Linked DNA regions of Homo sapiens: regions 1, 3, 4, 5, 6 and 7 are each linked to region 2. The links are contacts of gene promoters, found by promoter capture Hi-C in blood cells and fetal thymus (Javierre and others, 2016). All regions are on one chromosome and are shown on one strand. Each heading gives the region's core, a stretch centred on a gene start or on the middle of the fragment in contact. The rest is flanking DNA. Distances are from core to core; before and after follow the strand shown.

The links. The method cuts DNA at HindIII sites, captures the fragments that hold promoters and counts their contacts. A CHiCAGO score of 5 or more calls a contact.
Region 1: a fragment that was not itself captured here is called in contact with the fragment with the promoter of EXOSC1 in region 2 in 1 of 17 cell types (neutrophils); the score reaches 5.3 in neutrophils.
Region 3: a fragment that was not itself captured here is called in contact with the fragment with the promoter of EXOSC1 in region 2 in 2 of 17 cell types (endothelial precursors and M0 macrophages); the score reaches 7.5 in endothelial precursors.
Region 4: a contact is called between a fragment that was not itself captured here and the fragment with the promoter of EXOSC1 in region 2, in 1 of 17 cell types (neutrophils). The highest score is 5.3, in neutrophils.
Region 5: a fragment that was not itself captured here is called in contact with the fragment with the promoter of EXOSC1 in region 2 in 1 of 17 cell types (erythroblasts); the score reaches 5.8 in erythroblasts.
Region 6: a fragment that was not itself captured here is called in contact with the fragment with the promoter of EXOSC1 in region 2 in 1 of 17 cell types (endothelial precursors); the score reaches 5.3 in endothelial precursors.
Region 7: a fragment that was not itself captured here is called in contact with the fragment with the promoter of EXOSC1 in region 2 in 6 of 17 cell types (M1 macrophages, M0 macrophages, endothelial precursors and 3 more); the score reaches 7.3 in M1 macrophages.

Annotation. Positions count from the first base shown.
Region 1 is chr10:97,230,510-97,233,475 of GRCh38, reverse strand. The region is part of intron 9 of ARHGAP19 (Rho GTPase activating protein 19); the gene reads left to right. The region is part of intron 9 of ARHGAP19-SLIT1 (ARHGAP19-SLIT1 readthrough (NMD candidate)); the gene reads left to right. LOC105378447 (a long non-coding RNA gene) reads right to left here. Exons shown (of 3, transcript XR_946226.3): 3 at 2,238-2,320. Among named protein-coding and RNA genes, the nearest start is that of SLIT1, 46 kb to the right of the region's middle. The HindIII fragment of the contact is 6,324 bases long and covers 1-2,966 here.
Region 2 is chr10:97,444,308-97,447,395 of GRCh38, reverse strand. EXOSC1 (exosome component 1) reads left to right here and starts at 1,390. Exons shown (of 8, transcript NM_016046.5): 1 at 1,390-1,441; 2 at 1,549-1,664. The coding sequence starts at 1,411. It overlaps ZDHHC16 (zDHHC palmitoyltransferase 16), which reads right to left and starts at 1,221. Exons shown (of 12, transcript NM_198046.3): 1 at 1,043-1,221. RefSeq lists a silencer at 960-1,169 and enhancers at 1,101-1,680, 1,681-2,261. The HindIII fragment of the contact is 1,823 bases long and covers 311-2,133 here.
Region 3 is chr10:97,620,862-97,624,146 of GRCh38, reverse strand. The region is part of intron 1 of MORN4 (MORN repeat containing 4); the gene reads left to right. Among named protein-coding and RNA genes, the nearest start is that of MORN4, 11 kb to the left of the region's middle. The HindIII fragment of the contact is 1,733 bases long and covers 937-2,669 here.
Region 4 is chr10:97,253,325-97,256,642 of GRCh38, reverse strand. It overlaps ARHGAP19 (Rho GTPase activating protein 19), which reads left to right. Exons shown (of 12, transcript NM_032900.6): 6 at 239-325. ARHGAP19-SLIT1 (ARHGAP19-SLIT1 readthrough (NMD candidate)) reads left to right here. Exons shown (of 15, transcript NR_037909.1): 6 at 239-325. Among named protein-coding and RNA genes, the nearest start is that of ARHGAP19, 38 kb to the left of the region's middle. The HindIII fragment of the contact is 1,175 bases long and covers 865-2,039 here.
Region 5 is chr10:97,679,996-97,683,379 of GRCh38, reverse strand. All of the region lies in intron 1 of AVPI1 (arginine vasopressin induced 1), which reads left to right. Among named protein-coding and RNA genes, the nearest start is that of AVPI1, 5.6 kb to the left of the region's middle. The HindIII fragment of the contact is 1,455 bases long and covers 908-2,362 here.
Region 6 is chr10:97,595,287-97,598,675 of GRCh38, reverse strand. The region is part of intron 1 of HOGA1 (4-hydroxy-2-oxoglutarate aldolase 1); the gene reads right to left. Among named protein-coding and RNA genes, the nearest start is that of C10orf62, 7.3 kb to the right of the region's middle. RefSeq lists an enhancer at 2,110-2,404. The HindIII fragment of the contact is 2,234 bases long and covers 212-2,445 here.
Region 7 is chr10:97,652,268-97,655,692 of GRCh38, reverse strand. The region is part of intron 2 of PI4K2A (phosphatidylinositol 4-kinase type 2 alpha); the gene reads right to left. Among named protein-coding and RNA genes, the nearest start is that of PI4K2A, 13 kb to the right of the region's middle. RefSeq lists an enhancer at 3,148-3,425. The HindIII fragment of the contact is 617 bases long and covers 1,107-1,723 here.

The DNA of each region.
Region 1 (2,966 bases), core at 321-2,820, 210 kb after region 2:
TTTTAAAAATTACTTTGTTATTAAGATATATAATTCCAGCAACACAGGGAGCTCTTTGCTTAAAATTTAAAATTTTTGCCCTAAAAATAAATAACTTGTAATATTTATTTATTTATTTATTTTTGAGACAGGGTCTTGCTCTGCTGCTCAGGCTGAAGTACAAGTGGCACCATCATGGCTTATTGCAGCCTTGATCTCCTGGGCGCTCAGCGATCCTCCTACTTCAGCCTCCCAAGTAGCTGGGACCACAAGTGCATGCCATCATACCTGGCTGATTTTTAAATGTTTGTAGAGATGGGGTCTTGCTGTGTTGCTGGTCTTTTTTTTTTGAGACAGTCTCGCTCTATGCCTCAGGCTGGAGTGCAGTGGCGTGATCTCAGCTCACTGCAACCTCCATCTCCAGGGTTCAAGTGATTCTTCCACCTCAGCCTCCCTAGTAGCTGGGATTACAGGCGCCCACCACCATGCCCGGCTAATTTTTTGTATTTTTAGTAGAGATGGGGTTTCACCATGTTGGCCAGCCTGGTCTTGAACTCCTGGCCTCAAGTAATCTGCCCGCTTCGGCCTCCCAAAGTGCTGAGATTATAGGCGTGAGCCACCATGCCCAGCCTGTGTTGCTGGTCTTGAATTTCTGGGCTCAAGTGATCCTCCTGCTTTGGCCCCCTGAAGTGCTGGGATTACAGATGTGAGCCACTGTGTCTGTAATTTTTTTTTTTTGAGGTACAGCTGTTAGCATTTACAAATTCATCTTACTGTAATTTTGGTCCTAGTTATAATTTATAGATATCTAGAATTCACTCTCAATCCTGACCTCCTGGGGCCAGTAGCTTCTAGGACATTAGGCTTACTTGACATCAAAATTTCCTTTGCCATCTACAGAGTGAAAAGGCAACCCTGGATTGGGAGAAAATATTTGCAAATCATATTTATGATTAGGGATTAATATCCATAATAATCTAAAGAACTCCTATAACTCAACACAGCAAAAACAACCTCATTAAAGAGTGGGCAGAGGCCGCGCACAGTGGCTCACGCCTGTAATCCCAGTACTTTGGGAGGCTGAGGTGGGCGGATCACGAGGTCAGGAGATTAAGACCATTCTGGCTAACACGGTGAAACTCCATCTCTATTAAAAATACAAAAAATTAGCCGGGCATGTTGGCATGTGCCTGTAGTCCCAGCTACTCAGGAGGCTGAGGCAGGAGAATCGTTTGAACCCAGGAGGCAGAGGTTGCAGTGAGCCGAGATTGAGCCACTGTACTCCAGCCTGGGTGACAGAGCGAGACTCTGTCTCAAAAAAAAAAAAAAAAAAAAAAAAAAATAGTGAGCAAAGGACTTAAATAGAAATTTCTCCAGAGAAGATGTACAGATGGCCAAGAAACACATGAAAAGATGTTCAACATCACTAATCATTAGGGAAATGTAAATCAAAACCACAATTAGATACCACTTCACACCCACTAGGATGACTATTATTAAAAAAAAAAAAAAAAAAACAACGGAAAATAACAAATGTTGATGAGGATGTGGAGAATTTGGAACCCCTATGCATTATTGATAGGGATGTAAAATGGAGGAGCCACTGTGGAAAACAGTATGGCAGTTCCTAAAAAATTTAAATAGAATGACCTTGTGATCCAGCAATGCTACTCCCGGTATATAACCAAAAGAATTGAAAGCAGGGTCTTGAGGCAATATTTGTACACCCGTATTCATAGCAGCATTATTCACAAAAGCCAAAAGGCAGAAGCAACCCAACTGTCTATTGACTGATGAATGGATGACAAACCTTGGATATACAGATAATGGAACATTATTTGTCCTTAAAAAGGAAAGAAATTCTGACATATCCTACAACATGCGTGAATCTTGAAGATATTATGCTAAGAGAAATAATCCAGTCATAAAAGGAAAAATACTGTATGATTCCACTGAGGTACCTGTGAGTCAAGTTCAGAGACAGAAAGTAGAGAAGGTGGTTGGTTGTCAGGGGAGCTAAGAGTATGAGGAGAATGGGGAGATATTATTTAATGGGTACAGTATTTCTGTTTGGGAGGATGAGAAAGTTCTGAAGATAGATGATGGTGATGGTTGCACAACACTATTAATATACTTAATACCATTGAACTGTATACTTAAAAATGGTTAAAATAGTAAATTTTATGTTATGTTCATTTTATCATTGTTTAAAAAAAATCCCTTAGCTAGAATCCTAAAAGTGCATTTACCTGCTTAGACAGGGCTAGTAAAACGAACATCGTTAGTTTACTCTTGTTTTTTTCTTCTCATTTGGAAGAATCTGTCATTCCCTCTGACTTCCCTGTCATAGAGATGATTGAGAATCAGAAAAGTTATAGTCAGATAAATGTTCCTCTATGTGTTAGTCTTTTTTTTTTTTTTTTTTTTTTTTTTTTTTGGTGAGACAAGAGTCTCACTAGGTGTGCAGGCTGGAGTGCAGTGGCATGATCTCAGCTCACTGCAACTTCCACTTCCTGGGTTCAAGTGATTCTCATGCCTCGGCCTCCCGAGTAGCTGGGATTACAGGCATGCACCACCACGCCCAGTTAATTTTAGTAGAGACAGTATTTCACCATGTTGGCCAGGCTGGTCTCAAACTCCTGGCCTCCAGCGATTCACCCGCCTCAGCGTCCCAAAGTGCTGAGATTACAGGCGTGAGCCACCGCTCCCGGCCTAAAATATTATTTTTGTGTTTTCCCTCAGCCTTATCAAGGTATAATTGACCATCTAGCCTGTCTGGATCCCTTTTTTGGCTAGAGTTTTTTCCTCCAGAACTCCTCTCATGTAAATTATTTATTAAATCAGAATGTTCTGAATATTGCTGCTCATATTTATAATGCAGGGTTTAATGTTCTAGTTTTGATATGTTCTTTTTTTAGAATTCAAATTTATTCTCTAAGGGAAAAAAAAATTTCTCCAAAGATGGTAGAATTGTCACTGTTGGCGGT
Region 2 (3,088 bases), core at 141-2,640:
CTGTTTCCCAATGGGAAAGTCGACTGAGGGGACAGGGAAGGACAGACGGCAAAGCCATCAGAAGTCAGGTGAACTGAGATCAAAGTCGTGGCGAATGTCATCTGGACAAAGACGCTGCTCTCAGGATGTTTGCAATCTCAAGTAGGAGATACCCAACATCAATAAAGAGTAGCATTTTATTCATGTGCAGACCTCCCTTCTGGGCTAACACGCTGAGAAGAAAAAGAGTAACAACTTTATTTTGGGGCTGCTTATCTTTTGATGACGGGCCCACACAACCAGAGTTCGGCTTTTTCAACCAGAGAAAGCTTACTGAAGTGGGGATGAGGGGCCGCGAAGAGGATCGGACCGCAGGACTGGAAGCTGCAGTTTAAAAAACCGGGAAAAGGCCGGAGGCAGTGGCTCATGCCTGTACTCCCTGCACTTTGGAAGGCCGAGGCGGGCGGATCAAGAGATCAAGACCATCCTGGCTAACATGGTGAAACCCCGTCACTACTAAAACTACAAAAATTAGCTGGGCGTGGTGGCGCGCGCCTGTAAGTCCCAGCTGCGCGGGAGGCTGAGGCAGGAGAATCGCTTGATGCCGGGAGGCGGAGGTTGCAGTGAACAGAGATCGCTCCACTGCACTCCAGCCTGGCGACAGAGCGAGACTCCTCAAAAACAAAACAAAAAAACCGGGAAAAGGTTTTATTTCTCAATGACAGCCGCGAGGTGAAACTGCGATGGACTGGAAGTCAAAAACCGTGGGTTCCAGTTTGGGCTCTATCTTAACTATCTTGATCATTTTGGACAAGTCAAACCCTGTCTCTGAATCTGAGGTTCCATATCTGTGAAACAGACGAGTTGGGTCGCTTGACCTCCTTCCCTCCTGCTCTGAGCGTAACGATTGCTCGGAAGGTGCGCTCGGGCTGAGGAGGGCACGGCCCCGCAGGGCGGGGCGAGGAGAGAGCAGGAACCCGCACTCAAGACAAGGCCCCAGGGCAGTGCCCTACCCAGAAAAAGGGACTAGGATGGGGAGCAAGGGCCGAGGCTTCGCCCTTACCTGCCGCCTGCCGACTCCCCAGTCAGCCAAACCGAGCCCCGTAGCCTCTGCCGCCGCTCACTGCCACCCCCTCCGACTCGGCGCCCCGGCCGGGCCCGGCTCAATCCAAACCACCATGGCCCGCCGCCCGCAGCGCCAGGCAGCGGACCCGGACCCGCCGCCAGCCCATCCTCAACCACACGCGCAGGCGCCAGCGTGGACCTCTGAAGTTCCGCCCCCGGATTTGTCCCGGGGTAACCTGGGAAATGGAGTTTACTCGCAAGGATAAAGAGTACCAATTGACACGTGTCTTACTGCGGAACTGTGCCTGGGTTTGGCCAATGAGAAATCGACTTCGTTTTCATCCTGGTTTTGGGACAGCGGCAATCATGGCGCCACCTGTGAGATACTGCATCCCCGGTAAGTGAGCGCTTCCCGTACAGAGTCCTGGATAGGGGCTGAAGCAAGAAGGCTAAACGGCCTACAGCTTCTGGGGGCCCGTGACCGATGCAGCATTTTTTCTGCAGGCGAACGTCTGTGTAACTTGGAGGAGGGCAGCCCGGGCAGCGGCACCTACACCCGCCACGGCTACATCTTTTCGTCGCTTGCCGGCTGTCTGATGAAGAGCAGCGAGAATGGCGCGGTAAAGGAAGCGGCATGCCATCTCCCCTCTGTTTTTCCCTTAGGCTGCCCTTGAGTTCCAGTCCTTAGGCATGGGCACTGCGGACGCGTCTTTAGTGCCTCAGTGGTACAATGTTGGTCTCTTAGTTTCTTCTAGCCGTATCGCCGCTGTGGTGCACTTAGCCACCACACACTAGTTGTGTTGATCTCGCTTGGTTGTGCTGCTGACCCTCGGGGAGGGAAGTTGGGACAAAAGCAGATGCGAACTCAGTATCCCATCCCAGCCCAGCTCAGCCCAGCAGTGAGTTGCATACTGTATGAATGTTGCTTACCTTTCCGACTTTATCTAGCGCCACTATCTCCACCTCACTGACGCAATCTAGTCATACTGTCTTTTCTGTGTTTAAAAGTTATAATCACAGTCTCTGCTTGCCCTTTAAAAATTTTTTATAACATACTAGCTTCTTTCAGTGTCGGTAATGCGCCAAGCTTTCTCCTGCTACAGAGCCTTTGTAACATGCCATCTATCTGGAACGCTTCTATCTTCCTAGGCCTATTTAATTCCTACCTCCTTTAGATAGCTTCTCTACTATCACCTCAGAGAAGTCCTTCTGGACCCACTAATTGAGGAAAGGAGTTTTGTGGGGTGTTTTGTTTTTGTTTGTTTTGTTAAAGACTCACAAAAAACTCTGTTCCTTTTCTTCCAAGCACTATGTCAGCATATGATGAGACACTCAGGTATATGTTTCCTACTAGACTTCTCCCCTGCTTAAATCTAAGTCCGTGAAAGCAGGCCCTACCACCATACCATCCGTATATAGCACAAGGCAGCTCCTCAATAAATGTTGAATGTGTGAGTAATACCTACCTTTCTAGTTTCAGAGATAGATCCAGGATTAGCTCAGGATCATATAAGCAATATTTGAAGGAGCACAATAGAAAGAGGATTCAGAATTAGAACAGTTACGTTCTGGCTAACTTGACTTTGATTCTGCTTTGAGTAAGTAACTTAAGCTGTCTGATTCAAGGGGCTTTCTATTCAGTCATTGTTGGGAATGTTCTTAACAGTCCTGAGTTTGTTCATTTCATAGATATCACTTGAGTATTTTCATGTGTCAGGCACAGCGCTGACTTGGTTTCTGCTATCAAAGGACACAGACACAAATTGTAAACAAATAAATGCTCAAATGAGCATATGGTTACATATGTGGTGGTGCTTTGAAAGAATATTACAGGGCACCTTGAGAACATGTAACAGGCAAACCCATCCTAGTCAGCAGAAGTGACATTTAAGCTGAATCATCTAAAGAGTAGGTAAGAGTCAGGTGGGTGGAGAGAGTGCAGCTCTGGCAGAAAGAATAGGTTGAAGAGAGATCTGAAAGTGGGAAGAATTTAGTAAGTTGGGGAAACTGAAAGAAGGCCAGGAGAGCTGAAGCATTGTGAGCA
Region 3 (3,285 bases), core at 554-3,053, 180 kb before region 2:
CTCTTTGGAACTCCATCTTGACTGGATGAGGTTTTGGCTTCCCTGGGACTTGAAGGAAAAGGAAGCTAGCTGTTGGCGCCAGGCCCCCGAGATTTAAGAATCCCATCTTGCGGCCAGGCACGGTGGCTCATGCCTGTAATCCCAGCACTTTGGGAGGCCAAGGCGGGCGGATCACGAGGTCAGGAGATTGAGACCATCCTGGCTAACACGGTGAAACTCCATCTCTACTAAAAAATACAAAAAGTTAGTGGGGCGTCGTGGTGGGCACCTGTAGTCCCAGCTACTCGGGAGGCTGAGGCAGGAGAATGGCATGAACCCGGGAGGCAGAGCTTGCAGTCAGCCGAGATCATGCCACTGCACTCCAGCCTGGGCAACAGAGTGAGACTCTGTCTCAAAAAAAGAAAAAAAAAAAAAAAGAATCCCGTCTTGTTTTGAGCTGGGAGCAGTGGCATGCACCTGTAGTTCCAGCTACTCAGAAGTCTAAGAGGGGATTGGAGGATCTCTTGAACCTAGGAGTTCAAGTCCAGCCTGGGTAACATAATGAGACCCTGTCTCTAAAAGAAAAAAGAATTCTTTCCTGTTTCTCCACCAGGTCTGGCCCCAGTACTCTGAGGAGAATGTGTCCTTGTCCTGTTGGAACTCAGTCAGATGCCTGAGGGTCAGACTCTAGGTTACTTATTAATCAGAGGGGACTTTTTTTTTGGAGGGGGACAGGGTCTCGCTCTGTCACCCAGGCTGTAGTGGCACTGTCATGACTTACTGCAGCCTCAGACTCCTGGGCTCAAGCAATTGTCCCTGCTCAGCCTCCCAAAGTGCTGGAATTACAGGCATGAGCCACCATGCTTGGTTGATAGAGGACTTTTCAATAGTGATTTATAGTTCAGAGAACTTTTCACACACAGTATTTCCATTTATTGTAGCAGTAGGCCACAAGCTTTGAAGTAAGGATCTAATGATGTGCTTATTAAAACTGCAGGTTCCCAGGCTCTGACTACAGAATCTGATTCAGTAAGTCTGAGTTTGGGCCTAGGAATCTGCATTGTCAAAATTACTGGAGAAAACATTGTATTGCTTAGATCTGGAAAAGATGAGGAGGTAGCTAGATGTGGTAGTGTGCGCCTGTAGTCCCAGCTACTCAGGAGACTGAGGTGACGGGATGCCTTGAATCCAGGAGTTTGAGGTTACAGTGAGCTATGATCGTGCCACCGTGCTCTAGCCTGGGTGACAGAGCAAGACCCTGTCTCTAAAAAATAAATAAATAAATAAATAAATAAATAAATAAATAAATGAAAGATGAAGGGATGAATGAAGAGACCTAGGGAATTAAAAAAGAAATAGGGCTTGTATTTTTTAGTCTATCAAATGACGTACTATTTGCCTCTGTTTATATTTAATGATTTTGGGGGGTATCTTAATTCCCTCTTCTTCTTCTTCCGTTTTTTTTTTTTTTTTTGAGACAGGGTCTCCCTCTGTCGCCCAGGCTGGAGTGTCGTGGCGTGATCTTGGCTCACTGCACTTCTGCCTCCTGGGTTCAAGCGATCCTTCCACCTCAGCCTCCCAAGTAGCTGGGACTACAGGAACGCACCACCACACCCGGCTAATTTTTGGATTTTTTGTAATTTTGGTACAGATGGGGTTTCACCATATTGCCCAGGCTGGTCTCAAACTCCTGAGCTCAAGTGGTCCGCAAGCCTCAGCCTCCCAAAGTGCTGGGATTGTAGGTTTGAGCCACCGTGCAGTTCCCTTCTTATAGAATATCCTTCAATACATCCTTTCACCACTAATGTGAAGCCATATCTAGCCAGTCCCCAAATGTTACTGATTGTTTTCCTATGATGTATCCCCCCAGTTGTTCCTTCTGCTCCCATTATACTGTGATCTCCCAGACTCATGCCTGAACGTATCAGTTAGCTTTTTCTGGGTAATAACACACCACCAGAAAACACAGTGGCTTGAAACAATAACCATTTATTTATCCTGTGAGTCTGTGGTCGCTAGTTTGGGGCCGGGCTCAGAAGGGCAGTTCTTCTAGTCTTGCCTGAGCAATTTGTTCATCTGTGGCCAGCTGGGACAGGGTCTCACCATCCAGTAGACTAGATTGGACTCATTTACATGGGGGCAGAACAGGTCCAAGTGTAGCAAGAGGGCAAGCCCAGTGCACAGGTGCTTTGCAGACCTCTGCTAGATCACCTTTGCGAACATTCCATTATCTAGAACAAGTCACACAGCCAACCCAGGTCCAGCAGGTGGAGGAATAAATAAACTCTGCCTCTTTTTTTTTTTAGACAGAGCCTCACTCTGTCGCCCAGGCTGGAATGCAGTGGTGCGATCTTGGCTTACTGCAACCTCTGCCTCCCGAGTTCAAGCAGTTCTTCTGCATCAGTCTCCCGAGTAGCTGGGATTACAGGCACCCGCCACCACGCCCTGCTAATGTTTTGTATCTTTAGTAGAGACAGGATTTCTCCATGCTGGCCATTCTGGTTCAGGTGATCCACCCACTCCGCCTCCCAGAGTGCTGGGATTACAGGCGTGAGCCACCGCACCCGGCCAACTCTGCCTCTTAATGGGAGGATCTGCCTTGTCACATTGTAGGGTCATGAACGGAGGGAGAATAACTCTGCCCATTTTTACAATTTGCTTCATTATCATATTTCCCTTCCTTGCAAGCTTTTCTGACTATGGACTTGCTGCTCCAATTCATCCCACTTCGTGCTACCACATTCATTTTCCTTACACACTGCCTTCATATTACATCCTGGTTCACAAACCCGCAGAGGTCGCCTCTTTTCCTCCCTCATATGCTGTAAACTCTTATGCCCAGCTTTCAAAGGTCTCTTTAAGTTAGCCTGAGCTAAAAGCAGAGGCTGTGCTGTACAGGAAAAAAGGACTAGCATAGTCAGGGGAGGCTGTCAACAAACTTTATTACCTCTCTGGGCTTCTATTTCTCCTATAAAATGAGAGGTTGGGCTAAATCCATGAGATTCTTTTCAGATTTATTTATTTATTTATTTATTTATTTATTTCTCGAGACAGAGTCTTGCTCTGTCACCCAGGCTGGAGTGCAGTGGTGTGATCTCAGCTCACTGCAACCTCTGCCTCCTGGGTTCAAGCAATTCTCCTGCCTCAGCCTCCTGAGTAGCTGGGATTACAGGTGCCCGCCACCACACCCGGCTAATTTTTGTATTTTTAGTAGAGATGGGGTTTTACCATGTTGGCCAAGCTGGTCTCGAACTCCTGACCTCGTGATCCGCCCACCTCGGCCTCACAAAGTTCTGGGATTACAGG
Region 4 (3,318 bases), core at 203-2,702, 190 kb after region 2:
AGCAGAATTAGGAAATGAAAATGGTTTTCAAGGATTTCCTCGTCACTTCAGGGACACATTGTTTTTCTAGATTATGTCATATCCTGATGAACCAAAAAGTCTTCCCAGAATTAAACATTGTATTAGAGGCACCTAGGCTAGGGATAGAAACTTCATACATTTGAAAGAACAGGCTTATTGGTAAGTACTACTTTCTAGCTCTTAATGTCCATTGTTTGGTTTCTTTTCCTCTGAATAGGTCACTGCAAATGACCTTCAGGAGAATATCACAAAGTTAAACAGTGGGATGGCTTTTATGATTAAACACTCCCAGAAACTTTTTAAGGTAGGTAAGGGATAGCATTTGGCTGGTAACAGGACAAAGAAAATGGAGCAAGGTGGGATCCTAAGTGGGGCTATAAAGATAACTAAACGAGAAAAAGGTCCTGAATGGGATTGCAAACCAGAATGGACAGTGGCAAAACCCAGGGGGTAACAACCACTATGGTGGAAAGGAGTAGGAATAGGAGGCTGAGTAGGGCTGGGTCCTCTGGGTAACTGACTCCACCCTCTGAGCCATTCTTCCTTTTTCACAAAGGCAGCACACGTGGCAGCTAGGTAGTTTTATCCTGCCTGCTTACTGCCAGTAGAGTTTTGGGGGTCTGCCAGTAGAATTTTGGGGGTCATTTTGTACTCTTTGGCCCTTTCAATCCAAACAGGCTGTATTTCTGCTGACATAATTTTCTAAGAACTTTGTAGGTCTTCTGTGGATTTCATTGAGATTCATTCTATTAGACAAAGGCCACATATACAAATCTTTTGAAGATAAATCTTTCCCTACCTTGGTCACCTGCTGAGAAACCTAAGGGACAGTACCTTTAAGCTTCCTAAAGGCTTTCTGGTTTAATTGAGAGGATCTGTGAGGTACGCTCTTACTCTCTTGAAAGGGCCCTTTGTATGATTGAATACTCTGACCTTTTGATGTTTCTAAGGTTTTAGCAAAACGTAGCACAGTCACATCCTTGACCTTTTCTTTAGTGTATACTTCCTTGATAGTGAATCTCTTAATTTTAGCATCTTTTTTTTTCAGACAAGGTCTCACTCTGTCGCCCAGGCTGGAGTGCATTGGTACAGTCTTGGCTCACTGCAGCCTCAACCTTCTGGGATCAAGTGATGCTCCCGCCTCAGCCTCCCCAGTAGCTGGGACCACAGGCATACACTGCCACGCCTGGCTGATTTTTTGTATTTTTTTGTAGAGACAGGGTTTCAACGTGTTGCCCAGGCTGGTCTTGAACTCCTGGGTTCAATCCTTCTGCCACAGCCTCCCAAAGTGCTGGGATTACAGGCGTGTGCCAATTTTAGCATCTTTTGCCATCTGGAGAGGCTGAAAGTTTCCAAGATCATCCAGTTCTGGTTTCTTTTTTTCTTGCAGTAAAATGCTTATAAAATTTGCCATCTTAACCATTTTTAAGCGTACAGTTCTGTGGCATTAAGTACATTCACGTTGTTGTGTAGCCATCATCGCCATCCATTTCCAGAACTCTTCATCTTGCAAAATTGAAACTCTGTACCCATTAAACAGTAACTCCGTAAAACCCTCCTCCCATCCTTGGCAACCACCATTCTACCTTCCATCTCTATGAATTTGACTACTCTGAGTACCTCATGTAAGTGGACTCATACGGTATTTGTCTTTCTGTGACTGCCTTATTTATACTTAGCATAGTGTGCTCAAGGTTCATCCACACAGTAGCATGTGACAGGATTTCCTTCCTTTTTAAGGGTGCGTAGTATTCCACTGTGTGTATATACCACATTTTGCTTATCTGTTCATCAGTTGATGGATATCCCTTTATATTCCAGATATCATCCTTTATCAGCTATATGGACAAATATTTTCTCCTATTCTGTGGGTTGCCTTTTTACTTTGTTGATAGTGTGTTTTGATGTGCAAATTTAAAAAAATTTTATGAAGTCTAATTTGTCAATTTTTTCTCTTGTTGCCTGTGCCTTTGGTGTCATATCCAAGAAATCACTGCCACATCCATTGTCATGAAGCTTTTGCCTTATGTTTTCTTCTAAAAGTTTTTATAGTTTTAGGTCTTATGTTTATGTCTTTGACCCATTTTGAGTTAAGTTTTGTTTCTGGTGTTAGGTAAGGGTCCAACCTCATTCTTTTGCATGTGGTTTCATGGTTTTCCCAGCACCATTTGTTGAAGAAACTGTCCTTTCTCCATTGGTCTTGGTCCTCTTATTGAAAAGCATTTGAATATATATGTAAGAGTTTATTTCTGGCTTTCTAGTCTATTCCATTGGTCTACTTATCTGACTTTATACCAGTACCATGGTGGTGTGATTAGTAAATGTTGTAAAGGTGTTGTGGTAAATTTTGAAATCAGGAAGCTCGAGTCCTCCAGGTTGGTTCTTCATTTTTAACATTGTTTTGGCTGTTGAAGATGCCTTGAGATTCCGTATGAATTTTAGGATGCATTTTCTATCTTTGCTGCAAAAAACCTCATTGGTATTTTGATGTTTCTAAGGTTGATAGGGATTGTATTGAATCTGTAGATTGCCTCGAGTAGTATTGACATCTTAGCAATCTTATCCAATAATATGAAAATGGGATACTTTTCCATTTATTTATGTTTTCTCTAATTCCTTTCAGTAGTATTTTATAGTTTTCATTATACAGTAGTTCCCTCTTATCCATGGGAGATATGTTCCAAAGCCCTGAGTACATGCCTGAAACTGTGGCTAGTACCAAACCCTATATGTATACTATGCACGAATTTCTTTTTTCTTCTTCACAGTTTCATAGATAGATTTATTCTTATAGTGGATCTTAGCAACCTCAGCATATGATTTTTTGGTAAACTTTTTATTGACACATAATATTTGTACATATTTATTGGGTACATATGATATTTTGTTACTTGGATTGAATGTGCAATGATCAAGTCAGGGTATGTAGAGTATCCATCACATTGAATAGTTGTCATTTCTATGTGTTGGGGACATTTCAAGTCCCCTCTTCTAGTTATTTTGAAATATACCATACGTTGTTGTTAACTATAGTCATGCTGCTTTGCTATTAAGTGTTAGAACATATTTCTTCTATCTCACTACATGTTTGTACCTATTGACCAACCGATCTTTACTCTCACCCCTAACACCTATCCCAGCATCTGGTAACTATTCTACTCCCTACCTCTATGAGATCAATCTTTTTTTCTTTTCTTTTCTTTTTCTCCCTCACCATGAGATGCACTTTTTTTTTTTTTTTTGAGATAGAGTTTTCACTCTGGTTACCTGTGCTGAAGTGCAGTGATGCAATCTCAG
Region 5 (3,384 bases), core at 386-2,885, 240 kb before region 2:
CAAGACCAGCCTGACCAACATGGTGAAACCCTGTCTTTACTAAAAATACAAAAAATTAGTCGGGAGTGGTGGGGGACGCCTGTAATCCCAGCTATTCGGGAGGCTGAGGCAGGAGAATCACTTGAACTCAGGAGGTAGAGGTTGCAGTGAGCTGAGATTGCAACACTGCACTCCAACCTGGACAACAAGAGCAAAACTCACTCTCAAAAAAAAAATAAAAATAAAAGCATGGGCTGCAGTCATTTGAACCACCTCTGGCCTCGGCTAAGCCACTGGTACTCATATTTGCATCTTAGCTTCCCTTTACTTCCCTGTGAAATGGGATAACAGTCCCTAACTCCTAGAATTGTTTTGAGGATTAAAGGATATCATACGTATTGCCTGATCCAGAGTAAATATCCCATAGTTAGCTTTTCTTTTTATCAGCCTAAAAGTGTTACTTGGCGACTGTTGTCTTCTTGTCACAGTGTGTTTATGTCATCCAGCTCTGGGGGCTTAATTACCATATAGATTAGGTTTTAACTGGATTTTCATAATAGCACCTAAGGAGAGGCAGATTTTTAAATTTCCATTTTCCAAATAAAATACAATTTTCATGACGTTAACTCATCTGGAAGTCTTCTGCAGCTTTATTGTAGTTGTTAAATCTTTTGAAAACAGGGTGGAGTTTTTATGATAGAAGGCCTGGAAACTGGGACAGAGTGAGCATAGAAATGATTGGGATAATGAGGGTGACTATTGAGGTGAGGAGCGGAGAAGGCCAGGGCAAGGGGGGGAGTCATATTTTGGGAGTATGAGTGGGGCGGAGACAATTCAAACTCTTACAGAGAACAAAAGGCAGGTTAGGGGAAGGGTTACTTCTGCAAGTGGGTTGATAGGAAATTGGAAAAGTTTTTATATATAAGCTTTTGTACTGTTTGCCTCTTATGATGAGCATGTAAATATTTTAATTTAAAAATATTTTAATGTTCCTTTTCCCCTTTTGGAAGCTGGTTGCTGTTGACAGCTGTCTCTGTAGCTGGCTGTGGAATGAGGTCTGACTTAGGCAACCAGGCCCTGGAGAAGCAGCAGGACCTGCTCCTCCTCTCCCCAGCAGGCCTGGGGCTGGGAGAGATGGGTGGGAGCACAGGCCTGTCATCAGCTGGCTGTGCCACACAGCTTAGAGGAAAGAGGAGGGTTTACCTGTACCCCTGACCCAGGTACAAAGGTCACAGAGGCCAACAGAGGAGGATTTGCGTTTATAAATTCCTCAGTATCCATGGAGGGTGGTTCCAGGCTCCTCCGTGGGACGCTTAAGTCACTTACATAAAATGCCATGTTGGCCTATAGACTGCGCACATCCTCCTGCATGCTTTAAATCATCTCTAGGGTACTTATAATACCTAATACAATGTGAATGTTTTGTAGTTACAATGTATCTATTTTTTATTTGTATTTTTTAATTGTTGTATCATTGTATTCTTTTTTTCTTTTTTTTTTTTTTTTCTTTTTTTTTGAGACGGAGTCTCGCTCTGTCGCCCAGGCCGGACTGCGGACTGCAGTGGCGCAATCTCGGCTCACTGCAAGCTCCGCTTCCCGGGTTCACGCCATTCTCCTGCCTCAGCCTCCCGAGTAGCTGGGACTACAGGCGCCCGCCACCGCGCCCGGCTAATTTTTTGTATTTTTTAGTAGAGACGGGGTTTCACCTTGTTAGCCAGGATGGTCTCTATCTCCTGACCTCATGATCCACCCACCTCGGCCTCCCAAAGTGCTGGATTACAGGCGTGAGCCACCGCGCCCGGCCGTATTCTTTTTTTTAAGACGGAGTTTTGCTCTTGTTGCCCAGGCTGGAGTGCAATGGCGGGATCTCGGCTCACCGCAACCTCTGCCTCCTGGGTTCAAGTGATTCTCCTGCCTCAGCCTCCCGAGTAGCTGGGATTACAGGCATGCGCCACCACGCCCGGCTACTTTTGTATTTTTAGTAGAGACGGAGTTTCTCAATGTTGGTCAGGCTGGTCTTGAACTCCTGACCTCAGGTGATCCGCCCGCCTCACCTCCCAAAGTGCTGGGATTACAGGTGTGAGCCACCACGCCCAGCCATATCATTGTATTCTTAAATTTTTTATTTATCCTCTTATTGGGTAACTGATATAATTTTATTTAGCTCTTATTGGGTAACTGATATACTGGGCTCATTTATCCTTACTATAACCCTAAGAAGTGGGTAATCTTATCCCCATTTGACAGTTAAGGAAACAGGCTCAGAGACGAGGTTGGGTAACTTGCTTAAGGTGTCAGAGTTGGAACTCAAAACCTGTTCTATGTAATGCCAGGCTTCCCTTGTTTCCAGGCTGTGCTGGAGACAAGGATGGGTGGGTAAGCTTCTTAGGCCTTTATTATTCAAAGTGAACTATCTAGAATCAAGGGAGATCCTTTAATTTTCACTTCCTGGATATGATGGGAGACATTGACACAGAGTCTAACTTCTATTGAACTTTCTTATAAGTTTCAGTCTCTGCCCTTGACAGTATATTCTAACCCTTGTAGCCTCCTCTTCTGCCTCCACCTCTTGCTCATTAGGTCCACTGGACTGTGGTTAGATCTGATTGGCTCATTTCATACTATGTTTGCTAAATTATACAGATTTGGTTCATCCCCAGGGTCTTAAAGATAGGAGGTGGGATGATGTCTCAATTTTATAGATTGAAAACACTGACCACTATTCTATATACTTTGTCTTCCTTCAATCTTCAAATTAATCCTACAAAGTAGGTAGTAGTACTAGGTGATAATTTGACACGGGAGGCAGCTGAGGCAGGGGGGATGCCCAGCCAGTAAGTGGTGGAGGGGGTAGAAGTGGGATTCCAACTCGGGTAGCCCAGCTCCACAACTCCTCTCTTACCTTTGTGCTACGGCACCTGGGCCTTAGCATCAGAGAGGCCTGGGTTCTCATCCTAGTTGCAGAACCATGGATGACTTAACCTTTCCTCAGATTCCTCATCTGTGAAATGAGGAGGATTAAAATACCTACCTTACAGGGCTGTTGTGCTTGTTACATCTCATTGATACTATGTGAAGCAAGCTGTTACAGGTGCCTGGTATAAGTACTCAACACAGTTGAGCTGCTACTGGGCATCCTGGCGTCTGCATGGAATCTACAGCTAGACAGACCTGGGTTCAACTGCTGGCTCTGCATGTGCACGTGGCTTTGTGACGCTGGCAAGTCATTTAACCCCTCTGAGTTGCACTTCTTCATCGGTAAAATGAGGATAAACAATAATTCTTACCTCATGGGTTGCTTTGAATCCTAAATGAGATAATATGGGGGTCTGACACATAAGTGCTTAAGTGATTTTAAGGCAGGAGACTTCCTCCAGTTTAGCTCTTGGAGAATGGAAACATCAG
Region 6 (3,389 bases), core at 79-2,578, 150 kb before region 2:
CTTCCCATCTTTGCAGACAGAAGGTTCCCACACAGCTGCAATGACTGTTCACATCATTTTTCTTTTTTAGACACAGGGTCTCACTCTGTTGCCCAGGCTGGGATGCAGTGGCTCAACCATAGCTTGCTGCAGTTTCGACCTTCTGGGCTCAAGTGATCCTTATGTAATAAGGTTATTACAATTTTAAGCCTTGTAGAAATGGAATTAAGCTTAAATAGCCTTCTGCAGTTTGCTGTTTGTTTAATACTATTTTTTGAGCTTTGTTCATAAAAGCACACGTAGCCCTGATTCATTCATTTTAATTGCTGTATAGTATTCTGTTGTAAGGTTAGAACACAATTTATTTGTCATTCTCTTGTTGAGAGCATTTAGAATGTTTCCTTCTTTTGGCTGGGCCTGGTGGCTCACACCTATAATTTCAGCACTTTAGGAGGCCAAGGTGGGTGGATCGCTTGAGCCCAGGAGTTCAAAACCAGGCAGGGCAGCATGGCTGCCTGTCTCTACCAAAAAATGGCCTACCTGTCTCTACCAAAAAAGAAAAAAGAAGAAAAGAATGTTTTCTTCTATTTGCTATTGCAAACAATGCTGAAACAAACATTTTCTGTAAAGTCTTCTGTGCATATGTCTAAGAGTTCCTCTAGAGTTCAGATACTTTGGTGTGTTAATTGCTGAGTCATAGCTATGTGCACCTTCATCTGTGACACATTTTTTATGTATTTACTTTTTCTTTGAGGGTCTCACTCTGTCACCCAGGCTGGAGTGCAGTGTCACAATCACGGCTCACGGCAGCCTTAGCCCCCCAGGTTCAAGTGATCCTCCTGTCTTAGCCAGCTAGGATTACAGGCATGAGCTACCATGCCCAACTAATTTGTGTAGTTTTTTTTGTAGAGATGGAGTTTCACTATTTTGCCCAGGCTGGCTCGAATTCCTGGGCCCAGGTGATCCTCCCACCTTAGCCTCCAGAAGTGCTGGGATTACAGTCATGAGCCCCCATGCCTGACTGTGCGCCACATTTCTAATCAATCAGTGTAGACCTCAGGAGCAGCATAGAATGTCATACATGCCAAATCATGGTATTGTCAGAACAAATTTTTGCCAACTTTCTGGGTGAAAAGTGAATCTCATTGCTTTATTTTGCGTTTTCCTGTTTTTATCAATCACTTACTTGGGATATGTCTAACCAGTATACCTGTACCAGTTACAGGTGAGCCACAGTGCCCAGCCCGCTTAACTTTCTCTTTCTTCTTCTTTCTCCTCTCTATCCCACTCCATTAAAGAAAAAAAAAATGGCAGTAGTTTACAAACACAGAGTACAATACAACAGGATTCTTAATTAATAGAAGGATATTTGGGCCTGTAATCCCAGCACTTCAGGAGGCTAAGATGGGGGGATCACTTGAGGCCAGAAGTTCGAGACCACCTTGGGTAACAAAGTGAGACCCTGACTTTACAAAAAAATAAAAAATAAATAAACCAGGTGCATTTGAAGCTGCAGTGAACTATGATTGTGCCACTGCACTCCAGCCTGGGTGACAGAGCAAGACCCTGTCTCAAAAAAAAAAAAAAAATTGGAGGCTATTTGGGAGAAGGAAATGAAAATAAGGCCACAAGCAGTATTGGTATACAAAGTTCCTGCCATATAGTTGTGAGAAATGAGCCAGAAATTCGATGTGGAGTTTCCTGATAGCCAGAGCTAAAAGGGAAACATGGTCAGCTAACAGACATGTAGAACCCAAAAGATAAAAGCAAAGCAACTGCCCCGGAGAAACACAGAGTTTCCTGGCACTGGGACCAAGAGAAATTGTTCCTGTGAGTCATCCTTCAGGGGACACTGTGTGATGTAGACTCCACTTCATTCCACCAACTTTTTCCATGCTGTTCACTACACCGTCAGATTCCAGAGTGAGTTGCCAGGATATCAGGATATCTCTCATTGGATATTTAGCTGCTTTTTTTTTTTTTTTTTTGGTAGTTATTTTGCATTGGTAACATTGCAGGGAACGTCTGGAGGCACACAGCTTCTCGCTCCTGTGGGATTGCTTCTGGGGGATTGATTCCTGTGTGTCAGGCTAGCAGCCCAAGGAAGGGCCTCCCTGTGTCTTGCTACATGGGGCTGCAGTGCTCTCCGTAAAAGCTGCCAGCCCTGGGTGAGGACTCCAATCTAGCTACGATTGGACCAGCACCCTCTGACTAAAGAGTCAAAGATCAAACTCTTGCCACTCTCTCTGTTCCAATACCAAAGTCATCTTCCTCCCCAACCCTGCCTGCCGTCCTGGGCTGGGGCAGGTTCTTGCTGCGGCCACTGATTCAGCCACCATCACCCTCTTCCTTCACCTCTCATCCTGCTGGTCAGTTCCAGGGGCCCTACAGGTGGAGCTGGTCTAAACAGCAGGACAGCTGAGGCTTGCACTCTGGGAGTCAGAAGCAGACACTGTGCTCAAAGCTTCTATGACACAGCCCTCTCTTCTGTCTCATTGAAGGGGGCAACTGACTCATGCCTGACTCCCAAGAAGGAAGAAGTGCCTGGCTGGAGAAGAGGGAGTGTGGCGTAGTCAGGGCAGCACTAGACTCAAGAGTCACCTCTGGATATTGAACAAGTCACATCACATCTTTGAGTCTGTTTCCTTTTCTATGGGATGACAGTGAAATCATTTCAATCCTAGCTTATAGGACTGTTTTAAAGGATAAGAAAATGTCCCAGAAATCTGTGAGTGGGTACCCCAAAGAGCCCCTCCTTCACCCTGGTTAGATGTCCAGGTGTGAGCCTGATGTGTCCCTGTTAGTGTAGAGAGGGGGCCAGAGGAGAGGAAAAGGCCAGGATCTCCAATGAAGCAGGGACTGGGGAAAAAGCAGAAAAGCAGAGGGCTCACAGAAGAGGGGTCAGATGCACAGGCCCTGAAGTCAGAGAAGCCCAGGCTAACTCAATTAAAAAATAGTGATGATATTAGTGCCTTTCTCAGAGTTTTGTTTTGTTTTGTTTTGAGACAGAGTCTCACTCTGTTGCCCAGGCTGGAGTGCAGTGGTGCGACCTCGGCTCACTGCAGCCTCTGTCTCCCAGGCTCAAGCAATTATCCTGCCTCAGCCTCCTGAGTAGCTGGGATTACAGGCACCTGACACCATGCCGGCTAATTTTTGTATTTTTAGTAGAGACAGGGTTTCACCATGTTGGCCAGGCTGGTCTCGAACTCCTGGCCTCAGGTGATCCGCCTGCCTTGGCCTCCCAAAGTGCTGGGGATTATGGGCATGAGCCATCACACCCAGCCTCTCAGAGTTGTTTTGAAGTTTAAATGAGATACTATTTATAAAGTACTTCGAATAGAACCTGGTGCTCAATAAGTGTTAGCTGTCATTCTTATGGAGTCAGGAGAAAGTGCTCAAACCTTAAATCA
Region 7 (3,425 bases), core at 166-2,665, 210 kb before region 2:
TGAGGTGGGAGGATGGCTTGAACCTTGGAGGCAGAGGTTGCAGTGAGCCAAGATCGCACCACTGCACATTCTATCCTGGGTGACAGAGGGAGACTCTGTCCCAAAAAAAATATGATAAAAAAGAAATACAATCCAATTGTATTAAACCACTTAGATTTAAGGGTTGTTACAGCAGCTAGTATGAAGTACAAGGATTAACACTGTCATCTCCTGGGTTAGATTAGGCCAAATGCCCATCTTCTTTCCAGAGACAAACAAGTTGCAATTTACTCTGTACCCCTTCATTTCCTTTTGAAAAAAAATTTTTTTTTTTTTTTTTTTTTGAGACAGAGTCTCACTCTGTTGCCCAGGCTGGAGTGCAGTGGCACAGTCTCGGCTCACTGCAACCTCCAAGTCCCGCATTCAAGCAATTCTCATGCCTCAGCCTCCCAAGTAGCTGGGATTACAGGTGTGTGCCACCACTCCTGGCTAATTTTTGTATTTTTAGTAGAGAGAGGGTTTCACCATGTTGGCCAGGCTGGTCTTGATCTCCTGACCTCAGGTGATCCTCCTACCTCGGCCTCCCAAAGTGCTGGGATTACAGGCATGAGCCACTGTGCCCGGGCCCTTTTGAATTTTTTTACTTTGTGAAATTATTCGTATTCAAAACACAAACATTAAAATTGGTTTTCATTTTAATTAACTGCTATTTTTATGTATAGGCTATACACTGTAATCCTGGCTGCCTCTGAGGAAGGAAACTGAATGGCCAGGAGATAGGGGTAGCAGGGAGTCTGAATTACTTTTCTCTGTTTACCCTATGTGCCTTCTGATTTTTATACTAGATGCATGCATTACTTATTCTAAAAAAAATTTTTATGAGCCATCAATATTATACTTAAGTCAAATTGCAGTGACGTAATTGTAATCCACATATGCATCTATTGTCACACTTATCACATTGTCTTGTAATTATCCATTTGTATATCTAACTCCTCCTTTAAAATGAATGAGATTTGAGGAAGCGGAGAACATCTTATTTATATTAGCATCCACAGCACCTAACACAGTAGCTGGCATATGCTCATTAAATATTTATTAAGTGAATGAAGAATGAGTTACAAGCTTCTTTCAGAGACAGCAACAAGTGAGTTTTAGCATATAAATACCTAAAATCAAACTTATAAGAAAGGTATTTTCCTAAGCCTTGTAAAATTTATTACAAATAACTATTTTTTTTCCCATGAACCTGAGAGGCAAAATAACTGCCTCTCATCTATCGCTCCATGCTACCATCTAGTATTAATAGACTACCTAAAATGGATGTGCATGGTACTGTAGTAGGCACTCCCTGCCTTACAAATCAGAAAACTCAGGCATAGGAATGAAGGAAAAAGAGCTTTCCTAAGGCTACCTTGCCAGTGTCCACAGTGAAACTCCTGGCTCTCTCAAGCCATAAATCCCCTTTTGCCCCCATCATATTTATTTTCTATCATTCTTCCTAACAAACCACTTTTTCCCCATGACTAATGAAACTATCATAACCTGAAACCTCATAGGAGCAGAGAGCAGAGACAGCCAGTGAGTGAGAATTAGAGCCTTACCATTTGAAGTTCCAATGCAATGTGAACCTTGTTTCTATAATGACAGATGCTCTGATCAACTGGATAGAGTCCTGTCACAAGAGTTGGGGAGACAGGGAGAGGAGTCCTCTTACTATTCTCCAGCAGCTATATGTTAAGCTTCCAAAGTTCTGTCTCATCTCAGTCTCATGGAAGACAAGTATTTTTTTTTTTTGAGACGGAGTCTCGCTCTGTTGCCCAGGATAGAGTGTGGTGGCACAATCTCAGCTCACTGCAACCTCTGCCTTCCAGGTTCAAGCGATTCTCCTGCCTCAGCCTCCCAAGTAGCTGGGATTACAGGCACGCACCACCATGCTCAGCTAAGTTTTGTATTTTTAGTAGAGACAGGGTTTCACCCTGTTGGCCAGGCTGGTCTCGAACTCCTGACCTGAGGTGATCCACCCACTTAGGCCTCCCAAAGTGCTGGGATTACAGGCGTGAGCCAATGAGCCCAGCCAAGACAAGTATTTTTGTTGTTGCTGACTTTCTGATGCAAAAGATCCTCAGGCCTCGTGAAGGTTCTCTAACAGGGAAAGAGGAAGACCAAAGATAGGGACGAAAGGGATTGTGGGGGTGACACTAACGATTAGAATAGCTGATAAAAATATCACAGGCTAACATATGGAGGGTTTACGTTGTGCCTGGCACTCACTCAGCTATGTGCTTCATATAGGCTGTCTTGTGTAATATTGATGGCCACTCTACAAAGTAGGAACTATTTATATCCCTATTTTTACAGTAAGGAAACTGAGCCTAGGGAGGTTACATGACTTGCCCAAGTGTTACACAAATCAAAAACTGCAGAGCAAGAATTCAAACTCAAGTCCTCTGATTCTTGGGCACCACACTCCAGAAGCACCAACAGAGCAGGTAGGCATAGAGCCAGACACGGTCTGCTATTTGCCTAGTAAAGGAAGAAAACTATAGAGTGATAAGCAAGGAGAATGTAAAAGTTTCTAGAGTCTAAGAGGAGCCTAGTAGAAGCATTTCAGGTTAGGAGACTTAAGAACATTAATTATCATACAAGATGTTCAAAGCATGCTGTAAAACTATCTGCACAGAGAGGGAAAAGTAAGGCATAAAGAGAAGGAATGAGCTGTACAAAGCCAGGCAGTGAATTAGATGTGAAATGGGAACTAGAAGCCTGGTCAAACATTTTCTCGCTAGACCTAAAGTTGGAAGAACTTTGGTATTGTTTCTCATGATTTCATATTCATTTACTGACTCAGCTGGTACTTCATGAATGCTTACTATAAATATAGTATTTTGCTAGGTGCTGAGAATGAGAGAGGAAATCTTGAGAAGTGGTCTCTGACTTCTATAACTTACAAACTAGTTGGCTAATTGTTTGGAGTTTAGTAGCAAAGGAGCAGACATGGTTAAATATCCACAATAGTCACATTTTCCTCTCAAACGGAAGGGAAGTTTCTACTGCTGATCAATCTCTTTGCTCATAGAATCTGCTATCTAAACCTGAGAAGACATCTTTAAGGCTGGGTGTGGTGGCTCACACTTGTAATCCCAGCACTTTGGGAGGCCAAGGCAGGAGGATAGCTTGAGCCCAGGAGTTCAAGACCAGCCTGGGCAAAACAGGGAGACCTTGTCTCTACAAAAAATTAAAAAAAAAAAAAATTAGCCAGGCATGGTGGCACATGCCCGTAGTCCCAACCTGAGAGGCTGAGGTGGGAGGACTGCTTGAGCCTGGGAGGTCAAGGCTGCAGTGAGTTGTGATCATGCCACTGCACCCCAGCCTGGGCAACAGAGCAAGACCCTGTCTCTAAAAATAAGAAAGAAAAGAAAACTTTAAGCAGAGGGATTTTAATC